Linked DNA regions of Homo sapiens: regions 2, 3 and 4 are each linked to region 1. The links are contacts of gene promoters, found by promoter capture Hi-C in human tissues and cell types (Jung and others, 2019). All regions are on one chromosome and are shown on one strand. The core of a region is centred on a gene start or on the middle of the fragment in contact, and the rest is flanking DNA. Distances in the headings are between cores, read along the strand shown. Region 1 holds the start of SKIL (SKI like proto-oncogene). Region 2 has its middle 110 kb from the start of RPL22L1. Region 3 overlaps SLC7A14-AS1 (SLC7A14 antisense RNA 1). Region 4 overlaps SLC7A14-AS1 (SLC7A14 antisense RNA 1).

Region 1 (3,422 bases), core at 812-3,311:
CCAGTAAGAACAGCCTCCGACTTAAAAAATTGCCCAGTTATCTTCAAGGATTATAGTTCATTCTTCTTTTAATTAATCTGGAAGAAGAGAAGGGGGGTTGGGGAAGAGTTACATTTGAATTTGCTCCAGAGGCCAAAGGGCCAATTTGAAACCAGTTTCTTTTATTTTTTTTTTTTTCTTTTTTTTACGGAGTCTCGCTCTGTCGCCCAGGCTGAAGTGCAGCGATCTCGGCATACTGCAACCTCCGCCTCCCGGGTTCAAGCAATTTTCCTGTCTCAGACTCCGGAGTAGCTGGGACTACAGGCACAAGCCACGACACCCGGCTAATTTTTTTGTATTTTTAGTAGAAACGGGGTTTCACCATATTAGTCAGGCTGGTCTTGAACTCCTGACCTCAGGTGATCCGCCCGCCCGGGCCTCCCAAAGTGCTGGAATTACAGGCGTGAGCCACCGCACCCGGCCGAAATCAGTTTCTTAATCTTAAACTGAGTTCAGTTTACCAAGGTGAAGCTTGAGTGATTTCTTTAAATCTAACACCAGTTTACTAGAAGAACATTCATTTAAATAGGAAAGCAATTTGGAGTTGCGTAAAGCGAGCAATAATATAACATAAAAGGCCTTTCGAGTTCAGAATATGAAGACTCTTAAGCAGATCATCTCAATTAGTAGTACCGGGGCTTTCTCAGCTATGCCATTTTAAGGGAGGGAAAAAAATCCATTACTTCATCTCCTATTTAAAAACAAAACAACAGTTTCATCCAAAAAAATCAGATAGGAGTTAACATATCTACCATATGTAACTAAGTTACAATTTTAAGTGGATTAATTCAGCTAGTCCGTGTACACTATTTTTCTGGAATGACTGCAGGCAAAAATTAACTTTCTCTTAAAAAAAGGTTAGCGATTTTACTTAATGGAAGCCAAAAGCTATAGACTCCACGCCTGGGAATCTCCATCCTTCAACAAGACTAATCCGGGACAAAAAGCACAAGGCAGACAAACCTCACAAAGAATGCAAATGGAGGAAGAGGGAAAAAGAAAAGACTCTTTTTCCACTTCCTTCTTGAGAGAAAAGCCAAAAGAAATCCAATAAATAGAAATTTTTGCTTCCCAAACTCTCAGCACTTTACCTTAAAACAGACCCAAAGGATTAAGGACCAATGCCACCAACCATCGTACAGACTTTCGTCCACCACAGGAACACACCTTACTCAACACAGGCCAAGGAAGAGAGCAAGAGGCATGACCTAGAATGGGGGAGCCCCTAAAACCCTGAAGTCCTCCGCCCACTCAAAGCCACCCACCTATCTCTAACCCGGAGAGAGGGAGAACAAGGGACACGGGAAGCCTGGGGGTGGGTGTGCAAGGGGGTGGAGGGAAGTAAAGGGAGGAGTCCCCCCACCCCCACCGGCGAGCCTGGGATAACCCCAAGTGCCCTCCCAACACCGCCCCCCCGCGGGGGCCGCGGGAAGGACTGTGGAAATCCACCCCCCCGCGCACCCTCTCCCTGGGAAGTTCTCGGGTGTCACCTCAGCGCCCCTAATGCTGCACCTCCCCGCGCCAGCCCCGGGCCAGAACGAAGAGGACACCAGGGCAGTTTAGGCGCCGGGCGCGGATCCCTGCGCCGCCGGGGGCTGACGGACCGGGTCGAGACCAGGGCATCCCCGCGGAGCGCTGCTGGACTGGGGGAGGGGGGCGGTGACGGGCGTCCGGGTCTCCGGGGTCCCCGCGGCTCCCGTCAACTACAGCGCCCTGCCCTGCCGGCGCCCACCGCCTGGGGCCAACGAAGCGTGATCAGCCGTGGAACACCCGCCTAGCGACCCCCTCTGGCCCCGACCCCACCCGGGACCCGCGCATCCAAACCCCCTACTCGGGCCTCGGTGCCCGGGTAAGCTCGACGAGCTTTGTGAATTCCCCACCGCCCCTGTCGCCGCCGTCGGGCTCCTAGGAGGGTGAGCGCCTCTGGCCTCCCGCCGCCTCCGCCGCGTCGCCGCCGTAAGCCGGAGCCGCACCTGTGCCCGCCGCCGCCGCCGTCGCCGCTCGCCCGCTCCCTTCGGCTGTGCCGGCGCGGCTCCGAACCCCACACACATCGCTACACACAGCCCTCTGACGTCACCGAGTCCTCGGCCCGCCCACGTCACTGCGGAGACACACAGCTTCCCGCAGACGCCGCCGCCGTCTCCGGCCGCCCGGGGGAGAGCGAGGGCGGCGGGGAGGGGGAGGGGAAGGGAACGGAGCCAGCGGCGGCGCCGCGCGCGCGGGCCCGCCGGCGTCGTCGCCGCCGCCGCCACTTCGCGGCTCCCGGCCCCCTCGTGGACGCGCGTGCCGTCTGGCCTATTGTGGCTCCTCAGAGCGCCCCCCTGGCCCCGTCGTCTCGCGCGCGTGCCCCTCCCCCCAGGCGCGCGCCCGGCGCTTCTGGCCCCGCGCGCCGTCTGGGAAGCTGGCGCGCGGCGCTGTCTGCGGTGCACCCGGCGCAGACAGGATGTTCCCTCCCCACCCCACCCTCACCGCCGCCCTCCCTCCTTCCTTCCTCTAGTCGCCCAGCCGGCTGTCTGGGGCCACCGCCCCGCCCCCGCCCCACCCGCCGCTCTGTGGTGATGGGCCAGACGCGGGGGCGCCCTGGCCGCTCGGACGCCGCGCAGCGGGGAAGAGGGGGCAGGGCAGCCGCGCGGTGCACTGTGCGCGACCCCAGCAGCCGGCAGGGCGGAGGCAGTGCCCGCCCGGCAGAGTGCCGCCGCCCGAGGTCAGGCACGGGCGACCCTCCCCCTGCGGGGCCGCAGCTGGGCCGCCCCGCCCCGGAGGCAGCCGGGCGGCGGCCGCCCTGCAGGGCCCCCGGGGCCGGCTCTGCTCCCCGCCCCCGCGGGACCTCCCTCCTGGGCTGCCCCTCGCCCCCGCGGGGCCTCCTGCCCGAGGGCCGCCCAGCCAGCTGCCGGCGCTCCGCCCCGCCCCGGCGGCCCCGGCCTCGCCCGGGCGGCCTCCACCCAGACGCCTTCCCCTGGCTGACCTCCATCCGCCATCGGGCCGGGCGGGAGGGGTGGCCAAAGTTCCGGCAAAACCGAGAGCAAACATTTCTGTCCCTACTCCCCAGCCTCCTGCCTCCACCCCACCAGGCTGCTCTCTCGGTTCCAGAAGGGAGCTATAAATTAAAGGTTTTTACAGTGTTTACTGAGGGTGTTTTTTTGTGTGTGTGTTTTTTTGGAGAGGGACGAGACGAGGTAGGGAAGATAGGACTCAAGAGCTTTCCGGCTGTGACCCTCTGAGGCGTGTAGGGTGGTCTTCCTGGTTCCCAGGGTAGCCGATTAGCATATTGAACTCTGCAGAGCTGCTCCGTCACATTTCGAAACACCAAGAAATCCCCTTTTCTCCACCCCACCACAAGATCAGGAACTGAAATAGTCCACCGAGTAGCAGTGCACAAAATT
Region 2 (3,153 bases), core at 326-2,825, 400 kb before region 1:
GGTTGAATCTCTTTGATGAATGCCTTTTATTAACTGATTAGACTGGATTTTACTTCCTGCCTGAAGTCAGAGTCAAAGAATCTCTGAGTGTGTCTAACCATCTCTACTCTTCTACCTGATCTGAAAATAATGGCCTAACCCTAAAGTGTTCCCCTGTCTCCCTGCTATCTGTCTTGCTTCCCAGCTCCCTGGTAACTGGTTCAGCTTTGTGTGGTGGTGGTGAAAGTTACATTTCTATGGAGAAATGCAGCAGCACATAGCAGAGTGGCAGAGAAGCTCTATTTAGGCTTTGTTTCTTGACCACATCACTTGATTTTTAGGGAGATCCTATGATTGGTATTCTGAGCATTTTCTGAGTTGCCTCATCGCTGGGTCAATGGCTTTATCTACTAAAAGAAACAGAAAGGGAAATTGGTTCTGTCTCACTGAGCTTGCCAGAGTGGAATCTGGCCAAACTGCTAAACACCACTGAGCTTCATTCCTCACCTGTAAAATAGAGATAAATAATAAAACATACACTGTGTGAAGATTAAATAAGACAATGTATGTAAAGTAAATAGCGTGGTGACTGAGAGGTCAGCACAGTGCCGTGAATAAGAGCATGAACTGGAGCAAGACTGTCTTCCCCAAATTCTCCCTCAGTCTTTTGCTGTCTATGTAGTTTAGGGGCAAGCCAAACCACTTGTGCCTCATTTGCCAATCTGTAGAAAGGGCGATAATAAAATTTACCTTATAGGGTTGTTGTGAAGATGAAATGAATTAGTGAAAACTGCTGAGAACCATGCCTGGCACACAACCACAACAAACACTAAAAGTGCTTGCCAAAAAAAGTGTTTGCCATTATTATCAGAAAATACTGGTATTATTACAGCTATTAAAATAAGCTCTGGCCTTGAAAACATTGTCCTGAAAAGCTGATACAATCAAAATGAAGCAATAAAGGTTTAACCTTTGGTCATGCATAGACTAAGATGTTTTACTTACTTTTTCTTTTATTTGCCAAAAGGAAATAGAAAATTCAGAGGCGATGTTGACTTGGGGAGACCTTCTGAGGAAGGAAGAAATCCCAGGTGACCTGGTTCTCTTCACATTCCTCAGGAAGCCCGCTGGTTTCAGGAAGACCTGCACAAAGGGGAAACCTGACCTCATAATTGAACAAAGCTGATTTTTAAACATGGGAAGACAGGGCTAATGGGGTGGTTGTGAGGAGTATTAGTCCCCTTCAGGGAGAGAATTTAATATGACTGAGGTCACAGGAGACAATCTCCAATATACTCATTAGCAAATTAGTATTTTGTTTATCTTTAAAAAAAAGGGTGAGCCGGGCACGGTGGTTCACACCTGTAATCCCAGCGCTTTGGGAGGCCGAGGCGGACGGGTCACGAGGTCAAGAGATTGAGACTATTGTGGCCAACATGGTGAAACCCCGTCTGTACTAAAAATAAAAAAATTAGCCGGGCGTGGTGGCGCACACCTTTAGTCCCAGCTACTCAGGAGGCTGAGGCAGGAGAATCGCTTGAACCCGGGAGGCGGAGCTTGCAGTGAGCTGAGATCGCGCCGCTGCACTCCAGCCTGGGCAACAGAGCGGACTCCATCTCAAAAAAAAAAAAAAAAAAAAAGGTGGGGGTGGAGTCAGTTCAAAAGCATGGTGGGGAATTCTATGTTGAGGCAGTGCAGTATTTGGAGAAACTGCTGAGAAGATGTGAAAGACCACACATAACTATTTTATGCCCCTGTGAGATCCTTGCCAGAGCTTGATGGTGCCCATTAGTTCATTATTCCTTATGTTTTAAACTTTTGGTAGAACCTATAAGGATTATTATATGCCAGATGTATCAACTATGTTATAAACATGAACAATGAAAAGCTATTTTTTAAACCTATATGAATCTTGTGTAGCTTTTAAGAACATGTGTCCAAAAAATAAAGAATAAAAATAAAAACATGTCCAAAAGAACCATCATATAGAGTGGTCTGGTATAGACAGTGAATTAAGAGTCATCTGGGTTAAGTGCCTTTGGGAAAATCACTTCTCTGAATTTTAGTTTCTACTTCCCCTGCTTATTCCAGAGGGTTATTGTGGACACCAAATAAGGTGATGAATGTGAGAAAACACTTTTTAAATGCAAAACTCATGTTAGGAAAACATGTTATAAATGTAAATTTATAAAGGTGAGACTGGGAGAAGCAGGATAAAGAGAGGGAGAAAATCAGAAAGACGTCAGTGAGCAAAAAAGGAGGAGGAAACGTGAGGAAAAAAATCAATTTTCAAGATATTCAGGCATAAAAGAAGGCAGTTTGGAAGTGAAAATATACATGGTAAATGAACGACAATAGACAGAAGCTAAACATAAGTCACATATCTGTAAGACGGAATATTATGTGGATATGAAAAGTTATGCTTATGAAGTATTTGAATGGCATCAAAAACACTCAGCATGTTAACTAACAACAGATACAACATTGTATGTGTGAAGAAAATGCAGCCAATTGCATAAGAAAAGTATTAAAAGAGATTAGAAGGAAACATGGTAAAGCGGTTGCCTCTGAGTCGTAAGCAATTAAAGGAGGTTTCTATTCTTTCTGAAAAATTACCGTTTTCTTTAGTGAACATGAATCACTTTTCTATTTAAAAACTAAGCTGAACTAAATTAACAATAAAAGATAGGAGAAAAGCTAGATCAAGGAGATATATGAAGCAGAGTATCAGGAAACCTCCTGAAGCTTCTTTAGGCCTAAATATGGGATTTGTACCTGAAAGACCAAATATAAGTGCTTTGTTACCTCCACTTACGAGCGGTTCATTGTATACACATTGTATACACATGTACATTGTATACACAGTTCAATTATACACTGCTCATGTAGTACAAGGAACTATTTATTTTATTTTATTATTTTTCACACATTTTATTTTTTTCATGTATTTTTTTAAATTTTAATTTATTTCAATCGTTTTTGGGGAACAGTCGGTTTTTGGTTACATGGGTAAGTTCTCTAGTGGTGATTTCTGTCTGAGATTTTGGTGCACTTGTCCCCGAGCAGTGTACACTGTACCCAATGTGTAGTCTTTTGTCCCTCACCCCCGCATCCTTCCACTTGAGTCCCCAAAGTCCGTTCTTAATGCATCATTCTTATGCCTTTGCATCCTCA
Region 3 (3,405 bases), core at 165-2,664, 340 kb before region 1:
AAACAAGAAAGAGTGAAATGCCAAAAGACTAATGAAATAGAAGCATCTAATGAGATCCCTAACAAACCATAGTGAAGATAAAAGAATGTGATAGGAAATGTGTTGACTTTCTGTAAACTTTCACGTTGGCCTCACATCACACATGTCTCTTATTTCATCTGACACAACTGCACTTCTCAGAGGCAGACAAGGCAGTTCTCTATACATTTCACACTTTTACAGTCACCATCAACAAATTAAAGAAGCATATTTATTAAATAGAATATGCTATACCTTTAAAACCTATTTTTATTCATAGTTATGCGCTAACCTCAATAATTGAACCTCCTGTGATCCCAGCACTTTGGGAGGCCAAGGCAGTTGGATCACTTGAGGCCTGGAGTTTGAGACCAGCCTGGCCAACATAGCAAAACCCCATCTCTACTAAAAAATACAAAAATTATCCAGGCGTGGTGGTGCATGCCTGTAATCCCAGCTACTCAGGAGGCTGAGGCAGAAGAATCACTTGAAACTGGGAGGCGGAGGTTGCAATGACCTGAGATCACACCACTGCAATCCAGCCTGTGTGACAGAGTAAGACTCCATCTCAAAAAAACAAAGCAAACAAAAAAAAGAACCCATTTAATATAATGGCTAAGAAAACAGATTGTACAACATTATGTTTAAGTGACAAATATAAGTAAATAATTACAATTTAATGATATTTTTATTAATACATTTAAAATCCTTTGGTTCAGGTTACTCCAAAGAAAATGTGATAATTTTCAAGTAAACCATAACAGTTCTTTTTAAATTCTCTCCTAATTCCCATTCCTTCTCTTCAGAGGCAACCACTGTTAGGTACTTAATTCATTATGTAATTAGGCGTATGTACTTCCAGTCTTTTTCTATGCATTTTAATATGGATTGGCTGTGTCCCCACCCAGATCTCATCTTGAATTGTAGTTCCCATAATCCCTACGTGTCGTGGGAGGGACTCAGTGGGAGGTAATTGAATCATGAGTGTGGTTTCCCCCATGCTATTCTCGTGATAGTGAGTAAGTAAGTTCTCATGAGATCTGATGGTTTTATAACGGGCTTGCACCTTTATTCTCTCATTCTCTCTCCTGCCACCATGTGAAAAAGGACTTGTTTGTTTCCCCTTCCACCATGATTGTAAGTTTCCTGAGGCCTTTCCAGCCATACTGAAATGTGAGTCAATTAATCCTCTTTCCCTTATAAATTACCCAGTCTCAGGCATGTCTTTATTAGCAGAGTGAGAACAGACTAATACATATTTACACACCTATGAGTATATATACACTTGTGGTGGGCAGAATAAAAACCTCCCAAAGATGTCTACATGCTATGCCCTGGAATTGTGAATATAGTAGATTATATAGCACAGGGCAGTTAAAGTGGCTAATCAGCTGACTTTAGAGAGAGACATGAACCTGGATTATCTGTGTGAGCCCAGTGCAGTCACGGGAGTTCTTAAATGTGTAAGAGGGAGGGAGGAGAACCAATGTCAGAGTGACGCAATGTGAGAAAGACTTGAGTGGCTGTTGCTGGCTTTAAAGATGGAGGAAAGGGCCAGGAGCTAAGGAATACAGACAGCCTCTAGAAGCTGGAAAAGATAAGAAAACAATTTTTCCCCCGCAGCCTCCAGAAAGCAATAAAACCATGCCAGCATTTTAATTTTAGCCTAGTGAGACTTACTTAGGACTTCTGGCCTAAGATACTGACAGTGGGAATTGCTTAATAAATGGCCTACCCAGTTTATCCAACAGTGATGTTCGGAATAAATAAGCTCTATGCAGATACACAGTTTCTAATCAGCTCTTTTCTCCATTTATAATCATGAGCAAATAGACAAAGATCCACAGATATCTGAAGAAAGCCTTATACATGAAAAATAGAAAACAATGTTTTAAAAAAGCTTGGAGTAGTCAAATCTGTTAGTCTTCTCCTGTAGGGCTTCTGGATTTTTGTGAATTGATAAGCAAAACCTGCCCTCTTTTTCCATCAAGATACTAAGGTTGTTTTCTATATTTTCTTTCAGTTCTTATAATGTTTTAGGTTTTCATTTTTAGCCCTTGCTTTATAACCCTTTTACCCATAATAAGCCTGGGCTGATGGTCTCAGCCTTCTATAGTATATACAGATTATCAGTGCCTTTATATCATGATCTCTCCCATCCTGAGGGGTTCTAGCCCTCAAGGTTTTGTGATAAGGAGTGAGTAATAATTACAAAACTAATTTGTAAAAATAAAGTTTAAAAAATTATAAAGCACTACTCAAATATAAAGTTTTAGAATGCTGATGATGATGATTACCAATATTTCCCACAGCTCTATTCTTTGCCAATTATTTGCAGGCACTTCTTTCTCATCATCTCATCTCTGTATTTCTGACTTCCCTTTTGTTTCTGCCTCATCGGTCATGTCCCCAGAATTCCCAATAAGGAATTCTATATCACCTGGGAAGATGGACTCTGCATCACCAGAAACAGGCCTGAGCAGCACAAAAATCTCGGAGTTCTCATAATGTCTCTAGCATCACCATTTAGAGCAACCTGGATAAAGGCAATTGCTTCACACAGACAAAAGCAAATCATCCTCTGGGCCCCACCTGCTGGGGTTTATTTACCAGGCTGGTATTCCAAACAGAAGCTCCACTCACTTTATCTCTTATTCAGGCTTCAGAGGGTGCCAGACACAGGTGGCAGACACATACCCTACACCATGGCTGAAGTCCTGAGTAAGCTTGTTAATAAAAGTTTCTCCAGCTTCATCTAACAACAGGGGTGTGTTGAATAAAACTCTCAGTCAACTGTTGGCTCTGCCTCCTTGAAAGGAAAGCAGTGAGACAGGAAAGGCATCCAACCGAGATAAAAGCTAAGCTAACAAATGATAGCATTTCTAAAACAAATCATTGGACTTGAATGCCCTGGAATGAAATAGAAGAGGAGGGAGTGTCAGAGAAGAGCACAGGACGAACCCAACCTTTTGGTCAACAGAAGGCAGGGGGCTGACAGAAGACCTTGATATAAGACGTGGGTCTTTCTGACAGTTTTCCCAAGATGCTGCCCGGCCTGTATTATGCTACTCTTCCTGTTTGCCCCATACTTCCTGTCTTCTTCACATGGTGCATGCTGAAAGGACATGTTAGGCTGTCATTCTAGGCTGATAATTATTTTCACTGTTCTGTTTAAGAAAACAGTCTATTGGGGAGAAACACAGAGTTGATGGAGAAGAAATAGCCTCATTGTCTTAGCATGGACAAGGGGTAGTGAGAAATGATGAACAAATGTGATGATGGAAAGGTTTGGATGGTGGAGACAAGATCATGCCCAGGCCTCTTAGGTCACAGTCTTGCTCCTACATCAAGGCGATCTCTGAGTCGCTGTGCTGTAAAAGCATAGCT
Region 4 (3,027 bases), core at 190-2,689, 370 kb before region 1:
TTGCTGACTGTAAGGTTCCCTGTCTTTCCACTGCATCACAGCTCTGCTCCTGTGGCCTACCCTCTCTGCTCCCCTCCTACTGTGTGGCCATAAACAAGAGCTTCACACAGAATGCCAAATGAGAGATGATGCTGCAGGGAAAATGAAGGAAAAGAAACAGCACTTCTTAAAGCAGCTATCATTGGCAAGGGAAGCAGTGTTCCTGTGAAAACATGGTATCCAAAATGCTTTTATTGGTGGGAAGGTAGGAATCTCACACACAGACACACACACACAATGGGTAGGGTCTATATTGCAGAACCAAGAGGATAATCTTCACGACTGTTGTGACTGAAGAAGAGTGCTAACAGATTTCTCCACATGGTTTGCTGCATATGCCTGCTATAGAAAAGACTTATAATTTCACACTAAGGGTAAGCTTGATGGTGAATATGTACATTTTTAGTAATTCGATTGAGTTTATTAAACATGTATTATGGTCAAGACTCTGACCCCAAAGAGGCTGGAGAGGGGCCCCAGGAAAAGGAATCCCTAGTCTCTGCCCTTCATAGCTTTTTTTTTTTTTTTTTAAGATGGAGACTTGTTCTGTCGCCCAGGCTGGAATGCAGTGGTGCAATTTCAGCTTGCTGCAACCTCCAGCTCCTGGGTTTAAGCAATTCTCCTGTCTCAGCCTCCAGAGTAGCTGGGATTATGGGCCCCTGCCACAGTCACCACCCGGCTAATTGTTTTGTATTTTTAGTGATATGGGGTTTCACCATGTTCACCAGGCTGGTTTTGAACTCCTGACCTCAAGTGATCCACCCGCCTTGGCCTCCCAACCTTCAGTAGCTTTTTATCCAGACTTACCAATAAAGAACTTACCAAGGAAGTTACCAGACTGACCAAGTAAGATTGAATTAGAGCTGGATGTACAGCCAGTCTGCCCCATTTGCTCCAAAGGAGGAGTGCTTAATTTCAACTGGAGAGTTGGGAAAGGCTTTATAAAGTAGGCAGAATGTGAACTGGACCTTGCAGGCAGAGAGCCACTCTGTTTGGCAGAAAATGAAGGGAATTTCATTTCCAGCATAGGAAACAGACATGAAAGTGTGGCATCATGTGTTTAGGGAGAAAGGAGACCATTCAATGTGGCCAGAGCACAGACAAGATAAGGAATGGTGGGAGACGAGGCCAGCTGTGTTTTACGCTAAGATAAGGAGTGTGCTGTAGATTTTTATTATGCTTCCCAGTGCTTCACTTTTCCTTCCTGTGAGAGAATTACACATCTCCAGTCATTGCCATTGGACTGTTAGTGCCCACCATGAGAGGAGTACACATTTCTGCCCCACTGACATGGGACTCACTCATGTGACCTGTGAACAGATGCCTTCAGGCCACTCCCTGTTGACAACAGCTCTCTAGCTTTTTTCCCTTTGCCACCAGAATGGCTTATTCCATAGAGGAGCTGCTCCTCCAGCTGAGTTCTGGAATGAATGTTATCCATGGAGCAGCCCCACAGTTGACCCCACAATGACCTATAACTAACATGTAACGTGATAAAAAGTAAACCTTTGTTGTAAGTAACCGAAATTTTAGGGTTGTTTGTTGCCCCCAGCAAAGTTGACTAATAAATGTTTTTTACTTTATTATCAAAAGCAATGGATTTTGTAAAAAAAAAAAAAAAGAGAGAAGAAAAAAAAATTTTTTCCTTCTCTCCTTTCTGGCAGTCTCATGAATTTCAGTGCCGAACAAAACTTCATTTTAAATTTCCAACTGTGCTCAGATTCAATTGCTTTTTCCATATCAGGCATTCTGGAGGAATAGAATAACAATTAATTTATACTCACTTTTTGTAGCCACTGGATCAGATTCACCTGGAATTCATGTAAATCTAATAAATAGCACAGTGGGCGTCCAGTGCTTTGTAGCTGATGGCAGCAGATACATCACTTCCTTCCAATTGTTGAGGATATATAGCCAATTTGCCAGATAGGAATAAAGATTTCAATTTAAACACAAAGTTTATTTTTCAGAGATGGAATATTCCATTCAGGCTCAGCAAAGAAATAAGTAGACAGATGTTTCATGCTGAGGGGAACACCAGGGAAATGGCTTGGTCATGCTGGCCATGATGCTGAAAGCTCGTGCTGCCACCAATTTAAGTAAGTTCAAGGAGGCTTAACCTTCCTGGGGTTGATGAGAAAAAATTGAGAATACATTTTGTTATTATTTATATTATTTATGTATCACTGAGTTGAGCACTACCAAAGGTCACCATTCAGGTAGTATGGGAGGGAGCATGCCAGGTGGAGAGTACAGAGACTTAAATAGTATTAGGAATGGTGATGATAATGATGATAAGATATAAAAAGAGAAAGAAAATGGGCCTGGAGTCAGCTAAAACTCAATTACAAGAATGGCTTACAACTTACTAACTAAAGGTTTTATGGGAAAGCTGCTTTTAAAAAAATCTCTAAAACATAGTTTCCTCATTTCTCACATGGAAATAATAATACCTCTCTATTATAGTCATTATGAGGATAATATGAGATAATGAATGTAAAGTATTTGACATGTAGTAAGTGCTCAATAAATGTTGTTGGAGTTCTTTTTCTTCAGCTTTTTAACATCCTCCCTCACATGAATGCTTTTTCCTAACCCTGTTCAAAAGCCCATTCATCCTATAGTGCCTGGACTTACCAGCTCATCAAAGCCTTCTCTGACTCCAGTCTGTGATACTCTACCTTCTCTGAAACAGCAGTAATGGCCATAGGTGTTCATTATTTTGAATTCATTCACTCATTAATTCATTCATTCACCAAATATTTCCTGAGTACCTACTCTGTACCAGGCACTATTCAAGGTTCTGGAAATACAGCCGTGAACACAATATCCTTTCTCACCAAGCTTACGGTATAGTGAGGAGAGAGGGGAATAAACAAATAACAAGATGTAGCAAATCAAATAATGATTAAGTACGATGAAGAAAAATAAAATAGGGCAAGAAGAAAAGGGAGCGCCAGGGTGGGAGAGATAGGATTTCGTGTCAAG

Evidence for each region. The method cuts DNA at HindIII sites, captures the fragments that hold promoters and counts their contacts. A contact is called where the count stands out against the background at its distance.
Region 2: a contact is called between a fragment that was not itself captured here and the fragment with the promoter of SKIL in region 1, in 1 of the 25 tissues and cell types used here (aorta).
Region 3: a contact is called between a fragment that was not itself captured here and the fragment with the promoter of SKIL in region 1, in 1 of the 25 tissues and cell types used here (hippocampus).
Region 4: a fragment that was not itself captured here is called in contact with the fragment with the promoter of SKIL in region 1 in 1 of the 25 tissues and cell types used here (hippocampus).

What each region holds. Positions count from the first base shown.
Region 1 is chr3:170,356,354-170,359,775 of GRCh38, reverse strand. It overlaps SKIL (SKI like proto-oncogene), which reads right to left and starts at 2,061. Exons shown (of 7, transcript NM_005414.5): 1 at 2,013-2,061; 2 at 1-77. RefSeq lists silencers at 1,479-1,548, 1,639-1,768, 1,819-2,048, 2,209-3,108 and an enhancer at 3,389-3,422. The HindIII fragment of the contact is 15,648 bases long and covers 1-3,422 here.
Region 2 is chr3:170,757,488-170,760,640 of GRCh38, reverse strand. No RefSeq gene overlaps it. Among named protein-coding and RNA genes, the nearest start is that of RPL22L1, 110 kb to the left of the region's middle. The HindIII fragment of the contact is 4,311 bases long and covers 1-3,153 here.
Region 3 is chr3:170,697,557-170,700,961 of GRCh38, reverse strand. The region is part of intron 2 of SLC7A14-AS1 (SLC7A14 antisense RNA 1); the gene reads right to left. Among named protein-coding and RNA genes, the nearest start is that of SLC7A14, 110 kb to the right of the region's middle. The HindIII fragment of the contact is 3,977 bases long and covers 1-3,402 here.
Region 4 is chr3:170,728,492-170,731,518 of GRCh38, reverse strand. SLC7A14-AS1 (SLC7A14 antisense RNA 1) reads right to left here. Exons shown (of 6, transcript NR_135556.1): 5 at 1,824-2,163. The region is part of intron 1 of LOC124906302 (a long non-coding RNA gene); the gene reads left to right. Among named protein-coding and RNA genes, the nearest start is that of RPL22L1, 140 kb to the left of the region's middle. RefSeq lists a silencer at 1,025-1,319. The HindIII fragment of the contact is 5,722 bases long and covers 1-3,027 here.